Linked DNA regions of Homo sapiens: region 1 is linked to region 2. The links are contacts of gene promoters, found by promoter capture Hi-C in human tissues and cell types (Jung and others, 2019). All regions are on one chromosome and are shown on one strand. Each heading gives the region's core, a stretch centred on a gene start or on the middle of the fragment in contact. The rest is flanking DNA. Distances are from core to core; before and after follow the strand shown. Region 1 overlaps ZNF713 (zinc finger protein 713). Region 2 holds the start of LANCL2 (LanC like glutathione S-transferase 2).

The links. Contacts are between HindIII fragments. The study calls those that stand out against the background at their distance.
Region 1: a contact is called between a fragment that was not itself captured here and the fragment with the promoter of LANCL2 in region 2, in 1 of the 25 tissues and cell types used here (dorsolateral prefrontal cortex).

The regions. Positions count from the first base shown.
Region 1 is chr7:55,939,625-55,944,069 of GRCh38, forward strand. It overlaps ZNF713 (zinc finger protein 713), which reads left to right. Exons shown (of 7, transcript NM_182633.3): 7 at 1-2,601. The coding sequence ends at 382. Among named protein-coding and RNA genes, the nearest start is that of MRPS17, 10 kb to the right of the region's middle. The HindIII fragment of the contact is 5,643 bases long and covers 291-4,445 here.
Region 2 is chr7:55,364,053-55,368,096 of GRCh38, forward strand. It overlaps LANCL2 (LanC like glutathione S-transferase 2), which reads left to right and starts at 1,285. Exons shown (of 9, transcript NM_018697.4): 1 at 1,285-2,177. The coding sequence starts at 1,974. RefSeq lists enhancers at 1,210-1,399, 2,020-2,479, 2,510-2,749 and a silencer at 1,470-1,889. The HindIII fragment of the contact is 20,479 bases long and covers 1-4,044 here.

The DNA.
Region 1 (4,445 bases), core at 1,862-4,361, 580 kb after region 2:
TGGATGTGGGAAAGCCTTCCGTCAGCATTCATCCTTTACTCAACATCTGAGGATTCATACTGGAGAAAAGCCCTATAAATGTAATCAATGTGGTAAAGCTTTTAGCCGCATCACATCCCTTACTGAACATCATAGACTTCATACCGGAGAGAAACCTTACGAATGTGGTTTCTGTGGCAAAGCCTTCAGTCAGAGGACACATCTGAATCAACATGAAAGAACTCATACAGGAGAGAAACCCTATAAATGTAATGAATGCGGGAAAGCCTTTAGCCAGAGTGCACACCTTAATCAACACAGGAAAATCCATACTCGGGAGAAATTATGTGAATATAAATGTGAGCAAACTGTTCGCCACAGTCCTTCATTTAGCAGCACATAACTTATGGTGGGGGAAATCAGATAAATATATAAATGTAGGAGATTTTTTGGTCAGACCTTTTTATCCCATTCAATATCAAATTATTCATAGTGGAGAGAAAGCTTATACATAAATTTTTGTTTTGTTTTGTTTTTGAGACTGAGTCTCACTCTGTCACCCAGGCTGAAGTGCAGTGGTACAATCTTGGCTCACTGCAACCTCTGCCACCTGGGTTCAAGCGATTCTCCTGCCTCAGCCTCCTGAGTAGCTGGGACCACAGGTATGCACCACCACGCCCAGCTAATTTTTTGTATTTTTAGTAGAGACGGGGTTTCACCATGTTGGCCAGGCTGGTCTCGAACTCCTAACCTCAGGTGATCCGCCCACCTCGGCCTCCCAAAGTGCTGGGATTACAGGCGTGGGCCACTGCGCCTGGCCATAAACTTTCAATGCGTAGAAACCAAATTAATTTAGACCTTAAACTAGCAGCATATTACATTCCCAGGAGGGGTTATAAAAAGAAAAAATAATTTATTTTACAAATGAGATTATATTTGGAGTCATGTTCCAAATCTGATATAAAACTTTTTAAAAAATCAGAAGTCCTTATCCAGGCATGGTGGTGCACACCTGCAATCCCAGCTACTCTGGAGACTGAGGCATGAGAATGACTTGAACATGGGAGGTGGAGGTTGCTGTGAGCTGAGATCATGCCACTGTACTCCAGCCTGGGCAACAGAGCAAGACTCTGTCTCAAAAAAAAAAAAGAAAGAAAGCCTATAGGCAACAACTTGTAATTACTCACCTGTAAGTTTTATGGTATAAAACTTTTTTTTTTTTTTTTTTTTGAGGCAGAGTCTCGCTCTGCCACCCAGGCTGGAGTGCAATGGCGCGATCTCGGCTCACAGCAACCTCCACCTCCTGGGTTCCAGCGATTCTTCTGCTTCAGCCTCCCGAGTAGCTGGGACTACAGGTGCGTACCACCACGCCTGGCTAACTTTTTTTTTGTATTTTTTAGTAGAGACACGGTTTCACCATATTGACTAGGCTGGTCTCGAACTCCTGACCTTGTGATCTGCCCGCCTCGGCCTCCCAAAGTGCTGGGATTATAGGCGTGAGCAACTGCACCTGGCAGGTTATGGTATAAAACTTTTAAATCAGAAATTTTGATTAATTAAAGACAATGCTGGCTGGGGGCGGTGGTTCACGCCTATAATCCCAGCACTTTGGGAGGCCGAGGTGGGGTGATCATCTGAGGCCAGGAGTTTGAGACCAGCCTGGCCAACATGGTAAAACCCCATCTCTACTAAAAATACAAAAATTAGCTGGGTATGGTGGTGCACGCCTGTAGTCTCAGCAGCTTGGGAGGCTGAGGCAGAAGAATTGCTTGAACCCGGTAGGTGGAGGTTGCAGTGAGCCAAGATCACGCCACTGTACTCCAGCCTGGGCAACAGAGTGAGACTGTCTCAAAAAAAAAAAAAAGTAAAATTTAAAAATAAAGGCGATGCTGTAGTGCAGCCAGTCACATTAACTTGAAATAAACATAAAAGAGGAATATTTCACGAACGTCAGTTATTTGTATGCTTTCTTTACAGTTTTTACCATATCTAGTATTTACTTAATATTCTTTATAAAGGGATGCAAGATTTTTAGCCTTCTCCTAGGAAATACTATTTAGCATATAAAATAAGTTATATGCTAGTTTTATATGCTAATTAAATTTATTCTACTCTTCATCAAAATAGATACATAACCTTGAAATTAAAAATATTCGTTGATGTCCCCCCAAAAATCTTGTGTGCCGTTGTTTGAGAAACAGTGTGATAGTTTGTGGCAATATCCTGTGATGATTCTTTTTGCAATCTTGACATTATTTTCATCAAATGAATCCTAGGATCACTTTGAGAAGAGCCTTGAAGAAGACTTGAGGGTCCTATTGATGAACTTTGAAATATTGATTCAGAGAAGTCTGCTTTTCTATTTTGTTTTAGCTTTAAATTTCCCTGTGGCAAGTCTAGATTTTTTTTCAGTTAAAATTATTTCTGCTGTATTTGTAGAACAGAAGTTTTGGGATTTTGTAAAATAATGACCAGAGACTAAGAATTCCCATGCCACCCCGTATCACTGTGGAAGATGGAGAAGTGAGGAACTGTACCTGCGGGTGAGCCCTGGTGCCATGTTGAGGGTGGGAATCAGGAGAGCTGCAGTGGCTTATATAAACACCTGACGAAGTAGTCTAATTGGCTTAATCATTTATTTTATTTATTGAAATATATATCTGGGCTGGGCACGGTGGCTCACATCTGTAATCCCAGCACTTTGGGAGGGCAAGGCAGGTGGATCACTTGAGGTTAGGAGTTCAAGACCAGCCTGGCCAATATGGTAAAACTGCGTCTCTACTAAAAATACAAAAATTAGCTGGGCATGATGGTGTGCACCTGTAACCCCAGCTACTCAGGAGGCTGAGGCAGAAGAATTGCTTGAACCTGGGAGGCGGAGGTTGCAGTGAGCCGAGACTGCACCACTGCACTCCAGCCTGGGCAATAGAGCGAGACTCCATCTCAAAAAAAAAAAAAAAAAAAGAGAGAAAGAAAAAAGAAATATATATCTGTAACACTTTTTTCCAAAAAGAATTCATATTAGTTTGTTTGCATTGCTATAAAGGAATACCTGAAACTGGGTAGTTTATAAAGAAAAGAAGCTTTATTTGGCTCACAGTTCTGCAGGCTGTGCAGGAAATACGGTGCTGGTGTCTGCTTCTGTTGATGGCCTCAGAACGCTTCCAATTATGGCGGAAGGTCAATGGGAGCCAGCATATTACATGACAATAGAGGGGTCAAGAGAGATGGGGGAGGTTGCAACCTCTTAAACACTCAGCTCTCACATGAACTACCAGAGTGAGAACTTGAAGGGGTGGCCTTCCCCTCCACACCCGTGAGTATTTCTAGTCAGGTGAGATGAGAGACTGAGAAAGGAAAGAAGACACAGAGACAAAGTATAGAGAAACAACAGTGGGTCCAGGGGACCGGCGCTCAGCATACCAAGGATCTGCACCGGCACTAGTCTCTGAGTTCCCTCAGTTTTTATTGATTATTATCTTCATTATTGCAGCAAAAAGGAATGTAGGAGGGCATGGTGATAATAAGGAGAAAAACATGTGAGCAATAGAATCTATGTCATAATTAAGTTCAAGGGAAGGTACTATGACTGGACGTGCACGTAAGCCAGATTTGTTTCTCTCCACCGAAACATCACAGTGGTGTAAAGAATAACAAGGCAGCATTGCTGCAAACATGTCTCGCCTCCCACCATCGGGCGGTTTTTCTCCTATCTCAGAATTGAACAAATGTACAATCCGGTTTTATACCGAGACATTCAGTTCCCAGGGGCAGGCAGGAGACAGTGGCCTTCCTCTATCTCAGCTGCAAGAGGCTCCCTCTTTTACTAATTCACCTCAGCACAGACCCTTTACGGGTGTCGGGCTGGGGGACGGTCAGGTCTTTCTCATCCCACGAGGCCGTATTTCAGACTATCACATGGGGAGAAACCTTGGACAATACCCCGCTTTCAAGGGCAGAGGTCCCTGTGGCTTTCTGCAGTGCATTGTACCCCTGGTTTATTGAGACTAGAGAATGGCAATGACTTTTACCAAGTATACTGCTTGTAAACATTTTGTTAACAAAGCACGTCCTGCACAGCACTAGATCCCTTAAACCTTGATTTCATACAACACGTTTTTGTGAGCTCCAGATTGGATCAAAGTGGTTGGGTCAAAGTGGCTGGGGCAAAGCTACAAATTAACAACATCTCAGCAAAGCAATTATTCAAAGTACAGGTCTTTTTCAAAATGGAGTCTCTTATGTCTTCCCTTTCTACATAGACACAGTAACAGTCTGATCTCTCTTTCTTTTCCCTACAAGAACTCATTCAATAACACAGGAGGACACCAAGCCATTCATGAGGGATCCACCCCCATGGCCCAAACACCTCCCACCAGGCCCCACCTCCAACATTGGGGATCACATTTCAACCTGAGATTGGAAGAGACAAATATCCAAAGTATAATATATCAGAATTTAAGGTG
Region 2 (4,044 bases), core at 35-2,534:
ATTTAGGAAAATATGCCGACTCCTTAAATTGGGTTTCGATTTTTCAGCTTTTGAAAATATTGGTTTTCTTTAGGACAGGTTTCTGTACTTGCCAACAGTTGCCAGTTATCCACCAGCAGACTGCAGGAAGAAGAGACAATCTTCACCTCCCTCCTGGGTAGGGAGAGCTGAGAATTCACTAGGCTTAGCCTAACAAAGCCCGCAGTGGACGTTTCTGCTGTACCTGTCCAAGGCGTGATAGTTCCCCAGACTTTGGGGAATATCACCGTGGGTTATTTTGTCTAGTTAAGTCCCTGTGGTGGGATAAGGATGGCTCCTAGAGCATGTCGGCATCAGTAGTTCCTGGAGTGGATTTTCCTACACCGTCTAGGTATGAAAATTTGGTGGGAGAAAAGACCCCAGGAAAGGGGAAAGCAGGAAAGTGGAGCTAAGGGATGCTGCTATAACACTCATCCTGTTGTATCTGTTCTGTTTCCCTGAACTTTGAAGATAGTTATGCTGAGTACCCCCTTTAAAATGATTTTCTTCTACACTGTACCTTCCCATGGTCATGTTCTTGGTGGGGTGTGTTTCACATGTCCAGCCCTGTGGGGTTGGGGGGACACTAGAAGAGGTAGTGGGAAGCCAGACTTTCCCACATCATTCCACCGAGGCCACGGAGGCAGGAGGAACCGAGCCTTCCCTGTGCTCGGCACTGTGTTTTTCTTCATCATGTCACTTTTTACATTAACGTGTATTTTTGCTTGCTTCCAGAAAAGCACCTACATCAGCTATGCTGTAATCCTTGCTTTTCTCACCCAATAACTGGGAATCCCCAGAGAGCCAAAACTATCTTTTTAATCTCTTATTTCTTCATCACCTAGTACCATTTGGTGCTCAATCAACGTTTACTGAGCGGAAGAAAACGGAAATAAGACATTTTCCTCAAGGAGCAGAAATCATTACACGTATTTGGTCCAAACAAATAAAAATAAAGAGAACCAATGAAGACTGAAGTAAACCACATCACGATTACATAAATGTAAAGATCTGGTTGCTTGTGTCCTTTTTATAATACATACTATGATCTTTGCCAATTAACACTGGAGGACTCTTTCTGGTCGATAAAATGTTTGGATAATTAAGTATGCTTTCATTTTATGTCCCGGTATCAAAGATGTCCATTTATTCAAAACAAAGGGAGTGAACATAAAACATAAAAAGAAAAAAAAAAAGGCCTGTGGCTCCTCCTCCCAGACACCCCCCTCCAACAGTGATGAATAGGAGGGACTGTCTCCCTCCCCCATCCCTCGGAGACTAGCCTTGCAGTGTTTTAGACTGTTTTGAAATTCTGTTCTTTAGAAGAGATTTTTTTTTTCTTCTTAATATCAAACAAAGAACTGCTGCTATTCCTTTGGGCTGGCGCAGCAGGGGCCGGTGAAATGCAGGCTGACGACGGCGCGCCAGGGGCTGAGCTCGCCCCGGTCGGCGACGCGCACACACCTTGAGTGACAGCGACCTCTTCTCTACAGGTTTTCCCCGCGGGAGCGTGGCCCTAGCGGGCGTTCGGTTTTCTTTGGAAATCGCGGAGGGGGCTGGCCGGGCGCAGCGATCCCCACCCCGGGACTCCAGCCCCGGCCGTGCGCGTCGCCGCGGACGGGCTCTGCGGGCCACGGGGAAGGTGCGAGGAGGCGCGAGCAGGCTGTGAGCCGCTGGGCGCTCCCGCGAGCCCGCTCCTCTCCGTCGGGAGCAGGGCAAAGGCGCCAGGAACAGGGCAGAGGCACAGCGCCCACCGCCTCTGCGGCCGCCTGATGTGCGAGCAGCCCGCGACGAGGCAGTGCACGCTCAGACGCCCCGCTCCTCCCGCCAGCGCGCGGCCTCGCTCCTCCTAGAGGACGCTCTCTGCGCGGGCCCTCGGAGGAGGCGGCGGCGGGGCGAGCTGCAGCGCCGGGACAGGAGGTTTGTCCCCGCCCGCGCGCCGTACCGCGGCGGAGATGGGCGAGACCATGTCAAAGAGGCTGAAGCTCCACCTGGGAGGGGAGGCAGAAATGGAGGAACGGGCGTTCGTCAACCCCTTCCCGGACTACGAGGCCGCCGCCGGGGCGCTGCTCGCCTCCGGAGCGGCCGAAGAGACAGGCTGTGTTCGTCCCCCGGCGACCACGGATGAGCCCGGCCTCCCTTTTCATCAGGACGGGAAGGTGAGTCGGCGGCCTGGCCGCAGAGGCGCCGGAGGGGGAGCGCGGCGGTGGTAGCGTCCACCTTCCGCCAGGCGTGACGTCACAGGCGCGCGCCGGGCTTGGGAGGGCGCGGGATGATAGCGCCTAGCACCTGTCTCCGGGCCTTCCCGATGAGCCGCGCTTAGGGTCCGTGGGCTTCAGCTGCATGAACCACGTTCCAGCAGTTCGGCCCTCCTGGCCCCAACGCGCCTTTGAAATACGCGGACAGTGCGCTTTCCTTCTTGGCCCGAGCGGCGCTTCGCAATGCGGGCTTGTGCACTCGTGAGGCCCGCGGACACCTCCCGCCCCTGCGCGGCGGAGCGCTCCGCCGGCTACCTGCTCCTCAGAAGTGGCCTGGAGGCTGGATTTCCTTGGCCATATCTGGTCCCTGGGCTCTCGCCGACAAAGAAGCATTGTCCGTACTGTCTGTGTGCCCAGAAATGGGAAGCGGGTGTAAGGGGAGGCCAAACTTGACTTTCTTAGTGTCGCGAGGTGGGTCAGAGCGTTACATTGACATAAAACAGATTAACAACAGAAAAACATACATCTCTTGAATATGTTTTACGTGAAAAAGACACAAAGAAATGGCAAAACCCAAATACTTTTGTGCTAGGCAGAACCAAGAGCGGCAGCTGTGGGAGAGTAAAGTGTGCGGGGAGGCTAATGGAAGATGGAACTGCTTGAACCACGTCTAGGTAGAAATCTCCGCCTTGCTCGGCTCTGGTGCCGAGTGTTTCTTTGTTCCTGGTGTAGGGAGGCCATGTTTTACAGGAGTTTTCTCTTGTTTCATGAAGAAAAGGGGGCAGTTTAGAGCACTCTTCTGTTTTTCAAGTGCTTTTAGCTTAAAATAATCCTTATGCCAGAGACATATTTTTGGGATGGCATACCCTGTCACCCTTCACGGGCTATCTGAACAGAATCTAACGTGGGAGGCAAAAAGTGGGAATAAAACAGAAGATTGAATATCAGCACAACTGTTTTCATGCTTGGTAAAACCGTACCTTTACCAGGTTTTCTTTTTCCACTGAGGTACGTGTTCCAATGGCCACTTCACCTCCTTGGATCTCCATGTATTTCATATTTGGCTAAAACTAAGAAGGTAATTTTGAAAGAGCCATTGGTCTGAATATGGAATCTAAGGCAAGTGACTTCTGTAAACCTCTCTCTTCTTGAATGTGGTTAAAAACTCGAAACAGGCCGGGCGCGGTGGCTCACGCCAGTAATCCCAGCACTTTGGGAGGCCGAAGCGGGCTGATTGCTTGAGCCCAGCAGTTCGAGACCAGCCTGGCCAACATGGCAAAACACCGTCTCTACAAAAGAAAAATACAAAAATTAGCCGAGCGTGGTGGTGGACGCCTGTTCAGCTACTCAGGAGGCCGAGGTATGAGAATCGCTTGAGCCTCGGAGGTCGAGGTTGCAGTGAGTGGAGATTGCGCCATTGCACTCCAGCCTGGGCGACAGAGCTAGACGCAGTCTCAAAAACCAAAAGCAAGCAAACCTGTGGGAACAAGTCCTAACTGATGGGGATGTGTCTGAATTAGATGAAGCATATAAATTGCCTAGCAAACTGCCTGATGTGGTACCTTAAGAAAGGCCTCAATAAATGTTAATCTCTTCCCCTTGATGATTTAAGTTACACGGTTTAGATTCATATTCAATATTGGTTTTTCTCTAGATTTCTTCTATTTTTACATACAAATATGTGTTTCATTTGTGACTTAGTGTTTCATTTTTTAATAACAAAAATAAAAATCTGGCAAGCATTGAAAAAACTGCATCATTCATTCTTATTACCAGTGGCCATCTCAGTACTATCCTTGGAGTAGGTAGGTTACAGCAATGCTTAGTG